4 separate regions of the Homo sapiens genome follow, and regions 1, 2 and 3 are each linked to region 4. The links are contacts of gene promoters, found by promoter capture Hi-C in human tissues and cell types (Jung and others, 2019). All regions are on one chromosome and are shown on one strand. The core of a region is centred on a gene start or on the middle of the fragment in contact, and the rest is flanking DNA. Distances in the headings are between cores, read along the strand shown. Region 1 holds the start of LOC124904965 (a long non-coding RNA gene). Region 2 holds the start of CST9L (cystatin 9 like). Region 3 has its middle 26 kb from the start of CST9L. Region 4 holds the start of CST9 (cystatin 9).

The links. The method cuts DNA at HindIII sites, captures the fragments that hold promoters and counts their contacts. A contact is called where the count stands out against the background at its distance.
Region 1: a fragment that was not itself captured here is called in contact with the fragment with the promoter of CST9 in region 4 in 2 of the 25 tissues and cell types used here (hippocampus and ovary).
Region 2: the fragment with the promoter of CST9L here is called in contact with the fragment with the promoter of CST9 in region 4 in 1 of the 25 tissues and cell types used here (adrenal gland).
Region 3: a fragment that was not itself captured here is called in contact with the fragment with the promoter of CST9 in region 4 in 2 of the 25 tissues and cell types used here (H1 embryonic stem cells and dorsolateral prefrontal cortex).

What each region holds. Positions count from the first base shown.
Region 1 is chr20:23,653,123-23,657,751 of GRCh38, reverse strand. It overlaps LOC124904965 (a long non-coding RNA gene), which reads left to right and starts at 1,208. Exons shown (of 2, transcript XR_007067748.1): 1 at 1,208-1,427; 2 at 2,158-2,526. RefSeq lists an enhancer at 1-320. The HindIII fragment of the contact is 6,534 bases long and covers 1-4,629 here.
Region 2 is chr20:23,566,391-23,571,461 of GRCh38, reverse strand. CST9L (cystatin 9 like) reads left to right here and starts at 2,978. Exons shown (of 3, transcript NM_080610.3): 1 at 2,978-3,251. The coding sequence starts at 3,012. The HindIII fragment of the contact is 10,231 bases long and covers 1-5,071 here.
Region 3 is chr20:23,539,838-23,544,695 of GRCh38, reverse strand. It overlaps the pseudogene CST13P. Among named protein-coding and RNA genes, the nearest start is that of CST9L, 26 kb to the left of the region's middle. The HindIII fragment of the contact is 4,942 bases long and covers 1-3,923 here.
Region 4 is chr20:23,604,540-23,609,046 of GRCh38, reverse strand. CST9 (cystatin 9) reads left to right here and starts at 3,130. Exons shown (of 2, transcript NM_001008693.3): 1 at 3,130-3,437. The coding sequence starts at 3,183. The HindIII fragment of the contact is 5,555 bases long and covers 77-4,507 here.

The sequences.
Region 1 (4,629 bases), core at 1,785-4,284, 49 kb before region 4:
CAGTAATGTTATTTTATTATGCTAAAAATTATTGAGAATCCCAGAAGTTCCTGAATCAGCAGTTAGGAATCGAAAAAGAAAGGAAATTAATCAGTGCTGTCTTTTATACCTGTAATGGGATTTTTTTTAAAGGTGAGAAGCATGGTACATTCCAGGGTGCTTGACAACAAATAAATAAAACCAAGCCTAATTGACTTAGGAGAAAAAAAGATTCATTTGAAAAGAAGCGAGGTGGTTCACAAACCTATGGGAACCTAGATAACGAGGCTTGGCAAGTGAGCGCAGACTGAGTGGGCATGCCGCTGCAGCAGGACCAAGGTCACACCTCACACCTCCCTGGTGAGCAAGCTGCAGCCCTGCCACCTAGCGCCATGGGTGAGGGACAGCTCTCAGGCCCTCCAACACCACAGCCTTGCACGTGGACATGGCATTTCCCCTCTCCTAGCCCACTGTCCCGTCTCTTTATGTAATCCATTCCCAATTTAAAATCCAGAATTGGAATATCTGATTGGTTGACCCGAAGATAGGTGTCATGCCCTACCTTCTGGGACCAGGAAGACAAGGCGTCTGGCTTCTTCAGCTTCCGTACAGGGGAAGCTCTGACTTTTTCCACAACATGCAAAAGGGGGGATCTCAAAGAAGAAGCCCGTTTAGACATGACTTGGCCCCCCAAAATTAAACATTAAAGCTGCAAATGTCCAGTCCAGAAAATTAAAGTAAAATGTTACATTTGGCTAAGGATCTAAAATATTAAAGATTCCTTCACAAGCGTAAGTTTGTAGAAAGGTCACTGGGCTGCTGTGAAAGGGTTGTTTTTTCTCAATGTATTTCCAAGAGATAACTAGGACGGCACCTTTAAAATAACTGGAGGCTTCAGAGTCATTAGTAATTCTAAGGCATTACTTTCGTGCTATCATACGAAACATAGGCACACATTCTGTGTTGTGGAGTAGCCGAATAGATTATTCACTTCTGCTTGTTAAGGGTTGCAGCTAACATGTAACTGGACATTTCGCCCACTAGAACTCAACTGTAGCCATGTATTCCCATTTACCGTACCTGTTAATGCCGGGTAGCCAAGCAAGAAAACTAGTAAATCTCCCAACGGGAAGCACTCCAGACCTCAGGGGCTGAGGGAAGAGCTGACTCAGCACCAGCAGTGCCGCTGCTCAGCCTGGTGCCTGCCCTCCACAGCCCTGACCTCAGAGCGGTCCCCAGACCAGCAACATCAGCATCCCTGGGAGCATCAGAAATGCAGAGCTCAGGCCCGCCCCGGAGCTACCGAATCAGAACCTCCATTTTACACACCCCTCAGCTCAGAGCTTGTTTCTCCCTGGATTCCATGGCCCTGTGCTGCTGGCAGCCCGGGGTTAGGGCATTTCGTTGTCACCTGGCGACGGTGAAGCCTGGTTTCCTCCAGAGAGATTGTGAGTACATGGGACTCCACATAGCGTTTTTCCCTGAGTTACATAATTTCCCCTCCCCTTCTGTGGGATTTATCTCCAAAGAAGCCCTCCAGGGCCAAGTGGCCAAAGGGAGGGGAAGTGCCTGCCCTTGCTTGGGGAGCTCCCAGCCCCTCCCGGGGAGGCCTTTCTGCCGAACTCCGAACTCCGAGTTGTAGGACCTCTCTCCTGCTGGTGCCCTCCTCCGCCCAGACTGCCCAGCCGCTGGTGAGCACAGGGCAGGGCCTGCCCACCCTCGGCCGGTCCTTCGCGTGCTCCAGGCTTGGCAGGGGGAAGTGAAAGAGGGAAGGAAAAGAACTGAACTTCCTCCCGAGGGGTGGGAGAGGTCTGGCCCTTTTCCAGTCTCTCAGTGAGGAAGTGAAAAGAAGGCAACACCGGCCCTCTCAATGCAGCCCAGGAAGCGAGGGGGCTGAGGGAACCCCTCCAGTCCTCAGGGGGAGCCCTGCCTGACGGGCTGGCATCCCTGCAGCCCCAGCAGCCAAGTCCGGATCACCTATGTGGGGGTGCGGGGGTGGGTGTCAGGCTGGGCACCAAATGGGCGTGCGTGGGGTTCGAAGCAGAGGAGAAACAAAAGCCTATGTCAATGCCGTTTTACAAAAGTGTTGTGTATTTAGCCAATTCCGGGCTGAGTCCTGGACCAAGCCCCATGTTCCGGTTTCTGCAGCACAGCAAGGCCTTTTCTAACATATTCCAGATGCTGCTCTCCATCCAAGTGAAGTGGCAATGGTGCCAGCCTGAGATTTCTGCCCTGAGTTTTAAGTACGAGAGTGTGGGCTGACAATAAACTCCTTTATTCTACCCTCTTCTGTTCTCATAAGGAGAAATTTAAATTCTGGAAGAGATGAAGCTTGCATTTACCCAGGCCTGTTAATGAAGAATGTTGGACTAAATTTTGAGAATTCAGACTGCTTAAGAAATTTGCTTCAGAATCCCCAAAGGATTCTGCAAGGAGCTAGAAAGAACATTTTCTAACATCAGTTACTTGTTTTAATAAACTCCTTCGGGGTAAGATTTTGATTCCCACCACTGATCATATCATTAAAAAGTGTATTCTCTGCACTAACTTCTTCTTCTCCTTGAAGTATCACCACCAAAACCCTGAGCATGTTTTGTCATTGATTTAGCTCTTCTGATCTTAGGACTTGAGTTTAATGTCACTGAGAAGCAAGTGTAAGCTGAGGGTTACATAAACGATTGCCAGAATATCTGGATGCTTACAAATAAAGATAGGCCAGGTTATTTTCCTGTTATTTGTACCGCAGTTGGCAAAGCAAACACGAGGGCCTCCCTCATTCCTCAGGCTCTGGCTTGATGCATGTGGGGTTCCTGGTTTTGCAGGGGTCCCTCCCTTCCCAGTTCCCCTATCTGCCTCCTCCTGGGTCTTCTAGACCCCTGTTTCTGCACTTGGCACACTTCCCACTTCTGCAGAAAAGGAACAGACTTGGTTTGCATCCCCTTTCTGCCTAACTGTGAAGGATGTGCTTGTCTTCAGTTTTCTGTTTTAATATTTATAAGACCGGGGAAATGTCACCTGGGGTTGTTTGAAGGTTAAATGAGGCAGCACATATAAGAGGACCGGGTGCAGGTAAATAGCAAGTTAGCTTAAAAACCTTTGTTTTTCTGCCCCACCCTCCATTCCTGCCTCTACCTCTTTATTCCCAGCCTTGCCCAATCCAAGTCCTCCCCACTCCCTTGCCCTCCATCAGGACCTCTTTTCACTAGTTCTCACAGTCTCGGGGTGATGTGGAATTAAATTTCCTGAACACTATGGTGGCTATGTTAGAAAGAAACCTACATAATAATAGGATGACCTTTCTGCCACAGCTCTCCTGGCCCCATATCTCCACACAGCCCTTGGACTCTTGCCTGGCCAGCGGGATTTGGGTCAGCACAACCAGAGGGTGGGAATGGAGACTTCTGACTTGCAAATTATGAGTAACATTTGCTGAGAGTTTGGCTTCTCAACACAGCCAGGTAGCCAACTGAGACCATGATTGGATGCATGTTGGAATTTGCTGCAGTGCTGGTCTCTATTACCCACCTGCCCTGGGGCTTAGAGAAGCCTCGCCTTCTGTAATGTGCATGTGATACACGTCTGAACTTGTGAGCCATGCCTTCTGGGATTTTCACAGGATTTGCAGCTAAGACTCAGCACATGGTGTTTTTCTTGTGAAAATGAAAACATTTGGTAAGATGTGGGTGTGTGTATTCTTAATATCTTAGTGCAATTGTTCTGTTTTAGAGACTTGGATCCAGGCAGTGCCTCATAGCCCCAGCTTAACAGCTGCTCCAAGGAGCACCTGAATTTACCTGCTACCTGTGCTTCTTGCTTTTCAGCTCAAGCAGGGCTTGGTGGGATCCCAAAGAAAACCTCCAGGTCTGCCCTGGTAGGGAATTAAAATAAATGCACAGCAGAATTTTCCCCCATCCTTGACTGCTAAATCTTTGATGTGACTTTTAGACTGAGGAGAGATTAGTCCCTTGTCTCATGGAGCTTGTGCTTTGACCTTTTAATCCATGGCCCTTGACAACTTCCTGTCTGACTCTAGAATCACCTGTGCAGGTTGAAAGCGATGAATGCCTGGGCCTCCCCGCAAGGAGTTAAAGCAGAAACCCTGGGGGAGGTGCCTGGCATAGCTCCCCACAGGAGTCTGCTCTGTGACTGGGGTGAGACCCTCTAGGGCATGGTCAGCCATGGGCAGTCTCCATGTGGCCTCCCTTGATCTGACACTGGAGGGGAGGAAGGAGAGGGTCCCGGGGCCACAGAGTGGAGGAAGGGTGGCCACCACTGCAGAATAAGAGAGCACAGATGGCAGAGAATGGGTGAGGGCCAAAGGGAAAGTAGAGGGAGGAGAGGCCCACAGTGCCTAAGAAGATCAAATCCTGAAGTGAGGAGTTCGAGACCAGCCTGGCCAACATGGTGAAACCCTGTCTCTAAAATACAAAAATTAGTCGGGTGTGGTGGCAAGCACCTGTTGTCCCAGCTACTTAGGAGGCTGAGGTAGGAGAATCACTTGAACCTGGAAGGTTGCAGTGAGTTGAGATCACCCCATGGCACTCCAGTCTGGGCAGCACAGTGAGACTCCATCTCAAAAAAGATCAAGTTCTCCCTCACCATAGTGCTGGAGGAGCAGCAGCCCTTGGAGTTCAGCTCAGCAGCATGGTC
Region 2 (5,071 bases), core at 1,729-4,228, 37 kb after region 4:
AAATGCTGCTGGAAAAACTGGATGATCATAATGCGGAAAAGTGAAGCTAGACCACTACCTCTCACTATATATACATTAAAAAAAACACTATATATATAAAACACTATATATATAAAAAAAACAAAAATTGATTAAACGCTTAAATTTAAGATCTGAAACTATGAAACTTCTAGAAGTATTGGGAAAACATTTCAGGACATTGGTGTGGGCAGACTTTTTAGGTAAGAACTCAAAATCATGGCAACAAAAACAAAAATAAACAAACAGGATTACATCAAGCTGAAAAGGCATTGCACCACAAAGAAAACTGTAAATGGGGCTTACTTTCAGGTCCCTTTGTATGCCTTATAATTTTTTTTGGAAAACTGGTTATTTAAATATTAAATTGTGTTAACTCCAGGAGTCTGAGTCTGCTTTCTCCCTAAGATTTGTTGTTGCTTGCTGTGGATTGTAGTTGTGTCTTTGTTTAGTGACTTTTCTAAACTATTTCTGTGAAGAGTGTGTTACTTGTTACATGTGGTCAAAGTCACTAAACAACTGTAACAACAACAACAACACCCTTCCAAAACTAGCCCACTTGGTGTGTGTATTGGGGCACACCTTCAATGCGTAGGCCACTCACACCTCTGTCCTAGCCAAGGTTCCTTGCTTGTGCTGAGATTGGAAGTCAGGCAGAGATGCAAGCTCAGGGTCACCTCAGGTCTTTCTTGACCTATCTCTTGTCTTTGAAAAGACCTAAGACACATCTATGAGATATAACTATGTCAATTTGCACCATTATTTTTGTTGTTATTATGTCATTTTCCAATCTCAGTTTTTAGGGAACCCATGAGAAGTTTTCATTCTTGTGTAACTCATGCAGTGGTAAGGAATCCTGCAGTGCTGGCTTCTGCTTCACAATTATAAGCAAGACTTTGCCAAGTGAAAAGGAAAGTGTGAATCTTGTGTCATGGATCCCTTGACTTGTGAGTTGTGTTTGATTGAAAATCTTTCTCATGTGAAAATCTTTCACAACCCAGTAGATCTCACAAATAATTTTGCAAATAGTTGTGTGGTTGAGCTGTTTGTTTGCCAAGGTTAAATAAATATGAGAAGAATGGGTCAGCTGGGTGTGATCCAGAAGACCAGTGACATTTCGACAGTGCAATGGGGGCTGGACACAGTAGCTCATGCCTGTAATCCCAGCACATTAGGAGGCTGAGGTGGGAGGACCACTTGAGGCCAGGAAAGTTCGAGACCAGCTTGGCCTACATGGCAAAACCCCATCTCTACTAAAAACACAAAGAATTAGCCGGGCATGGTGCAACACGCCTGTAATCTCAGCTACTCAGGAGGCTGAGGCAGGAGAATCTCTTGAACCTGGGAGGCGGAGGTTGCAGCAGTGAGCCAAGATCACACCACCGCACTCAAGCCTGGGCAACAGAGATTCCGTCAAAAAAAAAAAAAAAAACAACCCATGAAACAACGCAATGGGCCAGATTTCACCTGTTATCATTGCTAATCAGGACACAGGTTTCAGCTACTCTGTGTCACCCACTTCCTGGAGTCAAGGCAGAAGATCAAGATGCACATGGCTCCTGGGCAGCAGCTCCCCACACACTAGCTACTTTCTTCTGTCTGTGATGGGTGAAGTCTCCTGTGAGGAGACACTCGGGACCACCCCAGTGTTGGGTCAGGCAGCATGACTCTCTTCACCTGCAGCTGTCTTGACCTGGCCAGTGCTGTGCTAGTGTGGACAGATGCAGTGATGCTCTTCCCAGGCCTGGCCCTGCTGTGATCTGGGAACATGGTATGGGACACAGTCAGAACAGTTCTTGTAGAATCAGTCTCCCTGACTTGGGACTGAACTTTCTATTCTGTTATCTGGCAACAATGCTAGGTTCTTGCCTATATTGCAGCACCATAGTCTTCTCAGCCAAACTCAAAGCTCTCACTTTTGCATACTTCACCTGTCCTGCACTATTTAATGTTCATTCTTACAGCAACAAAATATTATTATTTCCTCTTTCAGGTTAGTTATTGCCAGGAAATTGATTTAAAAGTAACCACCTAGTATCACCTAAGTGCTGGCAAAATAGCTCACTCTAGAACACCAAGAAGGATGGTCAGATGGAGACAAAAATGATCAAGGGGCTGAAGAATGGTCCAACCTCTATCTCACTGAGGCAGAAACATGTGATCTCCCAGAGAAGTGTTTAAAAATTTGGTCTAGAATGATATTCCAGTCTAATAAAACATGAGTGTGTGTGGTGGGGCTGCAGATGTAGGGCGGTGGGCCCTGTAGAAACCTTGGCTCTGGCTCAGCTGGAACCAGGGCTGACAAGGTTTAGAAATGCAAGCAGGGCTGGGCTGGGCATGACCAGGCTGGGGCCTCAGGACTTGGGTCTCTGTCTTTCCTGCCCTTTTCTCACAATACTCATTGTCCATCCCAGGTCAAAATGGTTGATAAAAATTGCCATTTATTTTTTTCATTTTTTCCCTTGGTTCACAGAGTACAACTGTTGAGGTATTATACAACAAAAGAACAAACTGATATCTTAGTTATTTTTCTGAACAACGGAGATCCTCTCTTCGACGGGGTGAAGGAGGGGAGAGTGAGAGTCGAGATGTCCCCAGGTCTTATCTCAGTTCGCTGTGGGAGGCGAAGGCACAGAATCATCCAAGGACACCAAGCACCTGAGGACAACCAGAACCTGTGGGTTCTGAAGGAGCAGCCTTCAAAGCTAGTGGCAGAGGGTAGCTCCCCTCCTGCCTGTGGCTTGTGCTGGCCTAGAGAGTATAGGGCAGAAGGATGGCAGATGAGTGACTCCACATCCAGAGCTGCCTCCCTTTAATCCAGGATCCTGTCCTTCCTGTCCTGTAGGAGTGCCTGTTGCCAGTGTGGGGTGAGACAAGTTTGTCCCACAGGGCTGTCTGAGCAGATAAGATTAAGGGCTGGGTCTGTGCTCAATTAACTCCTGTGGGCACGGGGGCTGGGAAGAGCAAAGTCAGCGGTGCCTACAGTCAGCACCATGCTGGGCCTGCCGTGGAAGGGAGGTCTGTCCTGGGCGCTGCTGCTGCTTCTCTTAGGCTCCCAGATCCTGCTGATCTATGCCTGGCATTTCCACGAGCAAAGGGACTGTGATGAACACAATGTCATGGCTCGTTACCTCCCTGCCACAGTGGAGTTTGCTGTCCACACATTCAACCAACAGAGCAAGGACTACTATGCCTACAGACTGGGGCACATCTTGAATTCCTGGAAGGAGCAGGTTGGTGACCACGTACCCTCCTGCCCTGGCATCTGGCATGTGCTGCTCAGTGAAAAATGGGAGTGGGGTGGGGACAGGGGGTCTTATTGAAGAGTCTTGTTCACCAGTTGTAGTCCATACTTAAGAAAATACAAGGTAGTTTAGTTAGTTTTTGATTTTGAAAACATCTAAGTTAGAAATTTCAAATAATTTGATCCTAATCAACTCTCATGAAAAACATATTGTTTAATCTCCATCTTTTTATGACATTATTTAACTGAAGAATGACTTCAAAATGAGGACTACCAAGAAAATGAAGATACGGAATAAGGAAAAGGGCTGAACAGAAAATGTGAATAGAGAGAAATTGAGAAATACTTCCAAAAAATGTAATAAAAAAGAGATAATTTAAAAAATGAAAATTAAAAAAGAGAACAGTAAGGGTTCAGGAGCAATAAGAAACCCCCACCAGTCCCAAAAGACCTCTGGGTGGTCAGTTCCTCTTTGCTGATTTCCAACTTCTCTGAGCTCCTTGGTGTGTCTGCACTTAATAAACTGAAGACTGTTTCACACTCTTCCTCAGACCACAGGTCTTAATCCTAAATGTTCTCCTTTTAATGAAGTCACTACAGAATGCAATCAGGAATGCACAGTTCATCTGTGCTGTAGGCATGAACAATGAAAATAGTCACCAAGTTGAGGACTTTTTTTTTTTTTTTTTTTTGAGATGGAATCTTGCTCTGTCACCCAGGCTAGAGTACAGTGGCGTCATCTCCGCTCACTGCAAGATCCGCCTCCCAGGTTCAAGTGATTCTCCTGCCTCAGCCTCCCAAATAACTGGGATTACAGGCACCCGCCAGATGCCTGGTTAATTTTTTGTATTTTTAGTAGAGACAGGGTTTCACTATGTTGGCCAGGCTGGTCTTGAACTCCTGACCTCATGATCTGCCCACCTCGGCCTCCCAAAGTGCTGGGATTACAGGCATGAGCCACTGCACCCAGCTAAGTTGAGGACTTCTAGTTGGGTAGAGAGGCAAAAATGCTCTTCCTACCTCATTACTGAAACCTTGCAAGAAGAGCAAAAGGACCCCAACCCTGCACCAAGCTTCAGCCTCTGGAAAGACCCTGTGCAAGGCCCTGGCTGGTTCTCTGACCCCTGCTCTCTGGGCTGGAGCCTGCCACGTGGGTTCCTGGATGTGACAATTCCAGAGTCAGTTTTGGAGTTGGGGAAATGGACGGATAGGGAGAAAGGAGATGGAATGAAGTGAAACTGAAAGGAGTGAGAAGATCAAGGTGCACTTTGCAATAGGGCAGATGGTGTTTCTTTCTTTCTTTCTTTCTTTTGATATGGAGTCTCACCCTGTCAACCAGGCTGGAGTGCAATGGCACAATCTCAGCTCCCTGCAACCTCTGCCTCCCGGGTTCAAACAATTCTCCTGCCTCAGCCTCCCTCCCGAGTAGCTGGGATTACAAGCACCTGCCACCATGCCCAGCTAACTTTTGTATTTTTAGTAGAGATGGGTTTTCACCATGTTGGCCAGGCTGGTCTCGAACTCCCGACCTCATTATTCACCCACCCCAGCCTCCAAAAGTGCTGGGATTACAGGTGTGAGCCACCACACCCGGCCCCAGATGGTGTTTCTTGAAGCCATTGTCCCAAGGATGTATGCCTGTGTGTAGTGGGAGTGCTGGGTGGCATTCTTGCATTTTTTTTTTCCTCAGGTCAGGTGGAAGGTTTGACAACATGCCCTAGATGAGGCTCCCTCTGTCCCAGGGCTGAGGTTACCCTGAAAGCTCTTGGAGAGCCAAACCCCTCCCCAGGCACATAGCGCCATCCTCTG
Region 3 (4,858 bases), core at 203-2,702, 63 kb after region 4:
CTGTCTTGATCTTAATTCTTCATCCTGACTCTGACTCAGTGGGTCAACAGAGGCCAGATGGTTTTGAAGAGCTAAACCTGAACCCATGCACAGATCACATTAACAAAACTGACCTTAGATGTGGGCAGTAGGGTTTGGTATGCCCTAAGACAACATGGGGTATGAGTATGATGGAAACAAGCAGCCCGGGACATGTGAAGACCCAGGTCCCTCCAATGTTCAATCACACTGTCAGGGCTCAGCAAAGAACACCTTCCTCCATGGGCTGCTCATGAGACCACATAGGGCTGGCCAGCTCAGGCCAAGAAGCAAGGGAGACCAAGTCCCCCAGATGGACAGGTTGCATACCCACGGAGCTTGGGGATGAAGGCGAGGGTAGATGAGAGAGATGTGTCCTCAGGTGCTGCAGCTAGTAGCATAGGGATCCCATTCCTGAGGCAGGGAGAGAATGGAACAAGAACTGCTCTGACAGTGTCCCCACAACCCTGCCAGCACATGGGAAAGAAAGGGGCCCAGGGTTGTGCGGGGCCATGAAGAACGCCACTTCACCTGCCCGCCACCCAAGAGCTCAACTGCTGGCAGATGTTAGAGAGTGCAGGTTGAGGACTGACCTCTTACCTTTTTTTCTTTATTTCTGAAATTCCTGTTTAAGGACCTGAGGAATCATGCCTTGCAAACCATAAAATTTCATCAAAAAGGTCCTTTCTGACCCAGTACATTGTGACTTGTTTTCCAACCTGACTCTGGCATGGCATCACCTGACAGATAGTAGAGCCCCTTAGCATTCCTTTCTACTGACTCCATGTTTTAGACAAAGCTTAACTTTTTCTACCAATTTCAAACTAAAGAATCCCTAAACCCACCTAAAACTTGTAAGCCAATGCCTTGAGATGTCCCACCTTTTGGGACCAAACCAATATATACCTTCCATGTATTGATTTATAATTTTACCTGCAACTCCTGGCTCCATGACATGCTTCAAACTAACCTGTAACCGGACCACCTCAGCCACACTTTCTCAGGACCTCTTGAGACTGTGTTTCCCTTTCTTGGTCACTCATATGGCTCAGAATAAACCTCTTTAAATATTTTGGCAGAATTTGGTTTTTCCGTTGTCAAGGTAAAGGGTATCCTGATTTCTGATCTCAGCCAGGCAAGCCCCTGGGGGTCTCAGGGTGCCATTTACAGTAGATCTGGGTTCCACTATCAAGTTGGCTCCTCCAGAAGCTGACTTGGAGACAAAAAATTCAAGTACAAGTGGCTTATTTAGAAATGATTCCAGAAAGGCAGTTGAAAAGTGGAAATAGTAAGGGGCAGAAGCAGCACGGATAGTGAGATTAGCAATATGGATAGCTAGGGCTCAGTCTTGCAGGACACTCCTCAGTGACTGGGTAGACACAACTTGGCGTTATATCCCAGGGGATAAAAGGCCAGGATGTTTATCCTCCAAATTCTATCATTGGCTGAGGGCTCCTCTCAAGGGTATTACCCACTGGCACTCCAGCCTGCCCTTCATTGGCAGAGAAAGCCATTAGGCAGAGAGGCTCAGAAGGTTGCAGTCAGCCCTGTCGGAGAAGAGCCCTCAAGGACAGCTGTCATGCAGGTGGCCTCTGAGCATCACCATCCTTCCGTCATGTGTCTAAGTTAGAATCTGACCCTGTATTACTACTGGTTATTACACAATATTGTCTCCTTGCCCCAGCCTGCACATTGGTGCTGCTGTCTAAGCATCAGGATTTCAAAAGTGCCTCTTTACGGTCATGGTATCACCTTAGTCCACTCTCCATACACATGCATGCGCACACATGCACACATGTGTACACACTGTAGTGGCTGGCCTCCCAGATGGCCTCCAGTGACCCTAATCTCTATCTTTATGTCGTTGTGTAGTCCACACTGAGCCAGGGCTGTTCTGGGTTGAGTCTAGTTTACAAAGGATACAGTGGCTTCCATCTTGGTCTCTGGGAACACTGTGTCTGGAACAAGTCATCCAGGATACCAAGCTGACGTACAGTCTTGTGGAGAAGCCACGTGGAGAACAGAGACCTCAGTCAATAACCATTATCAACCTGCAGGCATGGGAGTGAGCTACCTTGGAAAGGATTCTCCAGAGTCCATCAAACCTTTAAATAATGGCAGCACAGTCAATATCAGAGTGTAACCCAATGAGATGTGACAACCAGAGCTGCCCAGTCTGGCCATCCAGAGATGCCTGACTCACAGACACCATGAGACATATAAATCAATTGCTTGAGCCATTAAGTGACCAGGTGACTTGTCATACAGCATTAACTGATACATCTAACTGTGAGCACACACTTATGCACAGACATGCACACGTGTGCATACACACAAACACACACACACACACGAATGTAGTCTTCTCTCCCTGCATCATTAACTTTTCTGCTTCAATTCAAAACCAATGAAAATCTCTAAATGGCCCAGCTGTCTCTCTGGTTGGATCTGGTTAAAACTAACTTTCTAAGCTAACAGGCTGTGTCTTCCAAAAAGTCCTGGGAAGGGAGATTTCCGTAGAAATCCATGGACGGAAACTCTCAAGGCAGCCAGACTCTCAGAGCCTTACAGAGAGTGCCAGCATGCTTGAAGCAATTGAGGGCTGGGTCCTCTGGTTATCTAGAAAGATTTGTCCATGAAAAGTAATTTGTACTCAGAGTTGGGTGAGGTGTAGAAACCACTTCCATTTATTGCAGCAGATTATCCCAGCTAGTAGGGGAAGTATCCAGCAAGAATAGGCTATGCAATGCTGTCAAAACACATCATGGATTTTCAACATCAGCCCATGAAGAACACACAAAAATGCAAAAAGGCCAAACAAATGAAGTTAATGGGTTAACTGTGTTGTTCTAGTTCTTGCAAGTGTCTTTGCTTCTTCTTTAAAATGGAAATGAGTGTGGCAGAACACACTAGAAGATAACTACATATCTTTGCATTGTTTCTTCAGCATGGTGAGTTCAAATTTCCATGGTTTAGATGCAACAATAAAAGTACAAAAAACCACCTGAAAGAGACAAAAAGAATAGTCAGTTTCTATTTTAAAAAGAAGGAAACAAAAGCAGAAGTTCCTATTTCCAGGCAGGAGTTAGATTCAGCAGGGCTAATCTGTCTGAGTCAGCCACGCCTCATCAGAAAACAGAGGATCCAGCCCCCTCACCAGAGGAGTCCTCATCAGTTCACCTCTTGTGATCTGAGCCATCATGGGTGTGGCTTTATTCACTCCAGGAGAGCAAGGATCAGAGCCCAAGGACAGGTTATTATTGGAAAATCCCCATCTCCAGCCCTGACTCTCATCCAGCCACATGGACTCCCTGTAGCCTACAGAGACCCCATGCTGCACAGACAGTCCTACCCAGGGAATGCAACATTGCAAGAATATTACCAGGTCCTGCACCCCTTGGGGAAATAAAAATGTGCCAGCAACCAAGGAGGAAAGCTTGCAGCTGTAGGGCTGGAAGGAAACAAGTAGCTCTCATACCAGAGTCCTGCAGAACATGTGGGTTTCAGGATCCATGCATGGGAATGAGAACACTGTTTCCCTCCTCTCTCCTAAAATCTTCATTTAGAATAAAAATATAAAGTAAGAATACTTCTATGAAGTCAGTGTAAACTTGAATGATAGCATCAAGTAGAGAAGAAGTTGTGTAAGATATAAAGGTGTAGGAACAGTTTTGGGGAGAAAATAGGACACGCCACCAGCAACCCAGACAGTGCCTTGCAGAACTGAGTCCAGGCTTCTGCACCTGGGCGGGAGGGGGAATCCAGGGACGAGGGAGCCTGTGTGTGCCAGTGGTGCAAACAGAGAGAGTGGGCATCAGGTTTGCCAGAGAGGTGACTAAGTAATTGCTTAACTTCCGGACCAGCCAAGGTAGACAGAAAACAATCAGGAAACAGAGGACCTGAATAACCCAATTATCAAGATCAACCCTAGAGGATATTTTAGCAATGTATATTAAAATTTTTAAGAGGTGAAAAAATATTGGATGACTAATTCCATTTCTGAGAACCTTGCCTAGAAGGAAACAAAAATCAGACATAACACATATAGAAATAAGACTATTCATTATAGCCCTGTCCATAGTAGCTAAAAATTAGGGAAAATCTTAATCAATTCTCAGGAATTGGCTAAATAATATATGGAAGCATCATAAAATAATATCAAATGGTTGCATTACATGATGCTCTCTAATAATTTTACAGTTTTGGAAATGCTTAGGTTTTATTATTAAATAAAAATCTAGATCATGAAACAGTATTCATCAGGGTCTCAATTACAAAAAATATAAACATAAAATATTTTTAAACTAAAATACATACCAATATATTTACAGTGGTAAGATTTACATAAGGTTATTAACAGATGATTTGAAAAAGCTTAATATTTTTGAAAATTTCCAAATTTTTTACATTGAATGAATCAGGCCAATAACTATTTAATATTGTTTTAAAATTTATTTTCCAAGGATCCCAGATATCCACACTTTCTTCCTTTCTAAATACCAATAAATAAACCAAGAAAACAGAGAAAGTCCAACCTATAAGAGCTTTATGAAACAGGAAAGGACCCCATGCAAGGACAGAGACAGATAAAAATCTCCACATGATAAATAGATGTGGGCAAGTGGAAAAAAGTTTATTGAGTGCCATGTACTCAAGATAGAGGATGCAATCATAAGAGAAAACAAAGACAGCAAACCACCTCCCAACCTCTCAAACCCAAAGCCATCCTGATTTTCCTCCTCTCACGCTCCATGGCTAATCAATCAGCAAATTCTAAACAAACTTTCATAGACCCAGAATCTGAGCACCTCCCCAACCTAACCAACATCATCTCTCATTT
Region 4 (4,507 bases), core at 1,881-4,380:
CAGTTTAAATTTGCCATAAGTCTATATGAGATTAATTCCTTAAATTATAAAAACTCAAAGTCAGCTGAAGACTGAGCTAAGAAGAACCCCCCAGGTGGAAAACCTGGAGGAGGGGAGGGAGGAGTGGAGGGGGCTCTGGAATTCCCTGGCAGCACCCCCACCCAGCCCCGCTCACCCCCCTGCCCCGAGCTGCCCCTTTGATGATTGCTATGACAGCAATCACTGGATCACTCACTCTGCTCTGAGTCCGGGCTTCTCCCTGCCCCTGCTGTCTTCCTTTGATCTCCTGGACACCACCTTGTTTTCCAGCACACGGAAACCCCTGGGAATGCTGGCTTGTCTGGGGAGTCTCCTAGGGAAATGCCAAGCAGGGGGAATGGGGAGGGTCCCGAGGAAGTGATCCCAAAGCCCAGCAGGCGATCCTGAAACTGGCAGGCCCCGCTGAGCCTGGCCCAGCTTGAAACAGGCAGTGAGCAAGGTCGCACGGGACCTTTAGAGCATGTGGCTGAGTAGGCCGGGCAGTGAGGGACATGAGTCCGACCCCGGGGAGAGCACTCAGCTGGAGGGTCTGCGGGAGCTGGGGAGAGCGTCCTGTGTCCCGAAGAGTCACTGGGCTTCCCCTCGTCCACCGCCTCATGTTCAGCTTCACAGAAAAGGGCCAGTGGCTTGGTCCTGGTCGTTGCCAGCATTCTCTAATCATTCAAAGGAATGCGTTCAGAAATACAGGGCCTCGTTTCTGGAAAAGCAGGTCCATTTCAGTGAGGAGTTACTGGGACCTTCCTATGAGACCACATGGGTGTTCGGTGCCAGTGCCAGCAACACAAAGAGAGCACCAGACAAGTCCCGGTGGCCCCAGAGACAGACAGGCCAACGAGTGCCCAGGAAGAAGCTGAGTGAGACAGAACTCTTGCAAGGGGACTCAGGAGAGAAAGCCTCCCAGACCTGAGACCTGGGGATAGCCCTGCAGAGAGCTGTGAGCTGTGCCTGTGGGCTGGCCAGCCAGCCCCTCCGGGCCGTCCGGTTTCACTCTGGCCTCGGCAACATGTTGACCCACGTCTTCGGGGCTCCTCAGCCTGGAGCCCACATGTATTTCTCTTTACCTGGCTATGTCTTGATATTCCCGTCTCTCTCCACCTGGGAAGTGAGGCCATCCCAGGCCACTGGGGATTCAACAAGAAAATAGACACACTTGTAAGGGTCCATGGTGTCTGTACACCCGTGGTCTCACATCTGGGTGTGGGGATCCCTGTCCCCTCCTTGGCTGCACAGTGAGGACAGAGCTGGTGCCCAGGACCCTAAACCACTGCTCATGTAAGAGTGAGTGTGGGCACTCCCTTGGAGCACATGTGGGTATCGGCCCTCAGAATGGTGGGGGAGCCACTGGCAATTGGCAGGATGCCCCAAGTTTGTCAGCCGCTGAACTTACAAGGTGAGAGTGACCTCCATGGGCATTGCAGGCCTCTCTCAGGACACTCGCAACCTATTCCAGGCATCAGGATTCTAGTTCTCACAGCACCTTATGGCCTGCTCATCCCAAAACCCACAAAGGCATTTCCGCCCTCACTGACACCCCCTTCCTACCCCTACGTGCACCATCACTCTCCAGCTAAGAAACCACATTAGTTACGCTTCAGCTGCAGTTCCAGTGAACTCAACGCCATCAGAGAAAGGATACAGACTCCTTGGGTGATGTTTTTGGCACATCTGGCTGCTTTCCTGGAATTGTCACATTGAGTTGCTTTTTCTTTGCAAACAGGGTCTAGAAACAAACTCTTATTCTTTATCACCAGGCATGCTGTCTAAGCCTGTCCCCCATCCTGTGTGCCCCACAAAAGCCATTCTCATCCCCTGACCTCCATGCCCCTCAAGCTGAGTTACTTCTCATATGTGGTTTGGTCTGTATGCACTTCCCAGGAAGTATTCTGAACCTGCACCACTCAAAGTATGGTTCTGAGACCGGGAACACAACCATCCTCTGGAAGCTGGTGAGAAATGTAGTTTCCCTGGCCCTGCTCACAGCTACTGGGTCAGAATCTTTGGGTGGGGAAACTAGGAACTTGCTTTTTAACGTGACATCAGGGGATGCTGGTTGCTTCTGAAGTTTACAAGGAGCTACGGATAAACATCAAAGGCATATTTCACAGGGACAAAGCTTAAGTCTGGTCTGTGAAGAGTGCATTATTCAGTCTTTTGAGAGCCCCATTTGCGGTTGGAGTTGGAGGCTATGTGGGTCTTGGTCGAGAACTCAGAATCTCCACCCACAAACTGTGCCGCAGAGTGCTGTGCCGGCTGTGGCCACAGGAGGGAACCCGTGACAACCTAATGGGTGCACTTCAGCCATCCCTGAGGGCATCTTCGTCTTTCTGGTTCTCCACTGCTCCAATTGCAAGCGGCCACCCGTCCTGGAAACACCTTTGAGGAATAGGGGCAGCCATAACTAGCCAGGCCCCTAGTACCAGCACTTGGCAGCGCGTCCCTGGGCTGGGAAGCTGCATTTAGGGAGGTGCAGAGAACAGGGTTGGGGGCTCCTGCTCTTGATTTCCTCAACCTCTGCCCACGACCCCCAGGCTGGTGCCCCCCTCCCGAGACCCTCGGGGGAGCAGACACCTGCAGGACATCCCGCCAATCCTCCCGGGCTCCCCGCCTCTCTCTCAAGAGGCCCAGTGCTTTCTCGGGGCGCTGTACCTGCTCACCCATGATACTAGCATCCACTGTCATCCCTTTCCATCCTTTTGTCTCTGCCTTTCCACCTAACCTCCCCCTCCCAGCCCACCCCCACTGCTGAGTCCAGGGCTCACCTTCCACTCATACCTCTCACACTTGTGTTCCTGTGCCGGGCTCTGACTCTGGGGCGCCCAGTAGAGGTCTCCTTTAGCCTGCGGAGGTGCTGGGGCAGCTGGGGCTGGGCCTCATGTTCAGGGCACTATCTCTCCCATTGCTAGTCTTTTCCAACCCACCTGCCTGGGTGCTGTTCCTCTCCCCTAAACAGGAGATGATTTAAACGCCTTTGGAAGAAGGGAGGCCATGTGTGGGAGAGACAGGGTGTAACTGCAGAGGTGAGGCCTGGAGGGAGGAGTTTCTGCCCCAGCAGGTGAATTTAAAGGCCAGACCTGAGCCCTGGAAGGCTCCAGTGGACGCCAGGGATCTGAAGGGCAAAGGCAAGGGCTGCTGGAGCCTGCATCATGTCGAGTCCGCAGAGGAGGAAGGCTATGCCCTGGGCACTGTCACTGCTTCTCATGGGCTTCCAGCTCCTGGTGACTTATGCCTGGTGTTCTGAAGAGGAAATGGGTGGTAATAATAAAATAGTCCAGGATCCTATGTTCCTCGCCACAGTGGAGTTTGCCTTGAACACTTTCAACGTGCAGAGCAAGGAGGAGCATGCCTACAGGCTGTTGCGCGTCCTGAGTTCATGGAGGGAGGATAGCATGGACAGAAAGGTTGGTGACCACATCCTCTTCTGGCCTGTCCTTCTCCATCTGCCCCTAAGTGAGGGACCAAGATGTCTAGTCTAGGAGACTTGGTTCACCATCAGCAGTCCATAGTCAGGTAGTCCACAACCAATTACGGTAGTTTTAGTTTTGGAAAACATTGAACTTAAAATTTTTTTTAAATTAGGTAAATGTCTATTCACATGCAAAATATATTTTTCAATCTTCATGATTTTTAAGACATTGTATAACTGAAGAGTGACTTCAAAATAAGGACTTCTAAGGAGATGAAGCTGACAAGAAGAGAAAATAACCAAAGAGACTGATAAACATTTCCAGGTCATAAAATGAAAATGGAAAAGCAAGGACACACAGAGGGAGAGAGAGAGAGAGACAGAGAGAGACAGACAGACAGAGAGAGAGAGACAGAGAGAGAGAGAGACAGGCAGACAGAGAGAGAACAGTGAGAATTCGAGGGCAATAAAGAACACCATCAGCCCTGAGAGGCCACCGTGAAAGGTTAGTTCTCTGATCTCCACCTTCTCTGGGCTCCTTGCTCTGTCTGCACTTAATGAACTGAAGGCCAATTTACACTCTTCCTCAATGGACCTTTATCCTAAAATGCTTGCCTTTTTGATGAAATCATTAAATGTGGTCAGGAATGCACAGTTCATCTGGGCTTCAGGCATGAACAATTAAAATGCCCTCCTAGTGGAGAACTTCTGGTTTAGAGAGAGAAGGAGCATTGCTCTTCCTTTCTCAGCACCAAGAGCCTGAAAGAAAGGCAGAGGGACTCTAGTACCGCACAGAGCTTAAGCTCTGGAAAGACTCTGTGCAAGGCTCTGGCTGGTTCTCTGCCTCCTGGGGTGGATTCCTCACTGCCATCCTCAGGATTCCAATGCTGGTACAGAGGAATTTTCCTCCTTGCTCATTTGCTGCCTCCTCTCAGGAGAATTAAAAGCCTGATGCAACCCTCAGAGGGGCATCTGGTCCAGTAATGGTGGCTGCTAATATTCATGCTGGAACCTTGGAAGTCTCAGAGATTGAGATTGGCCAGGCCTCATGCTTCTGCTTTCCCA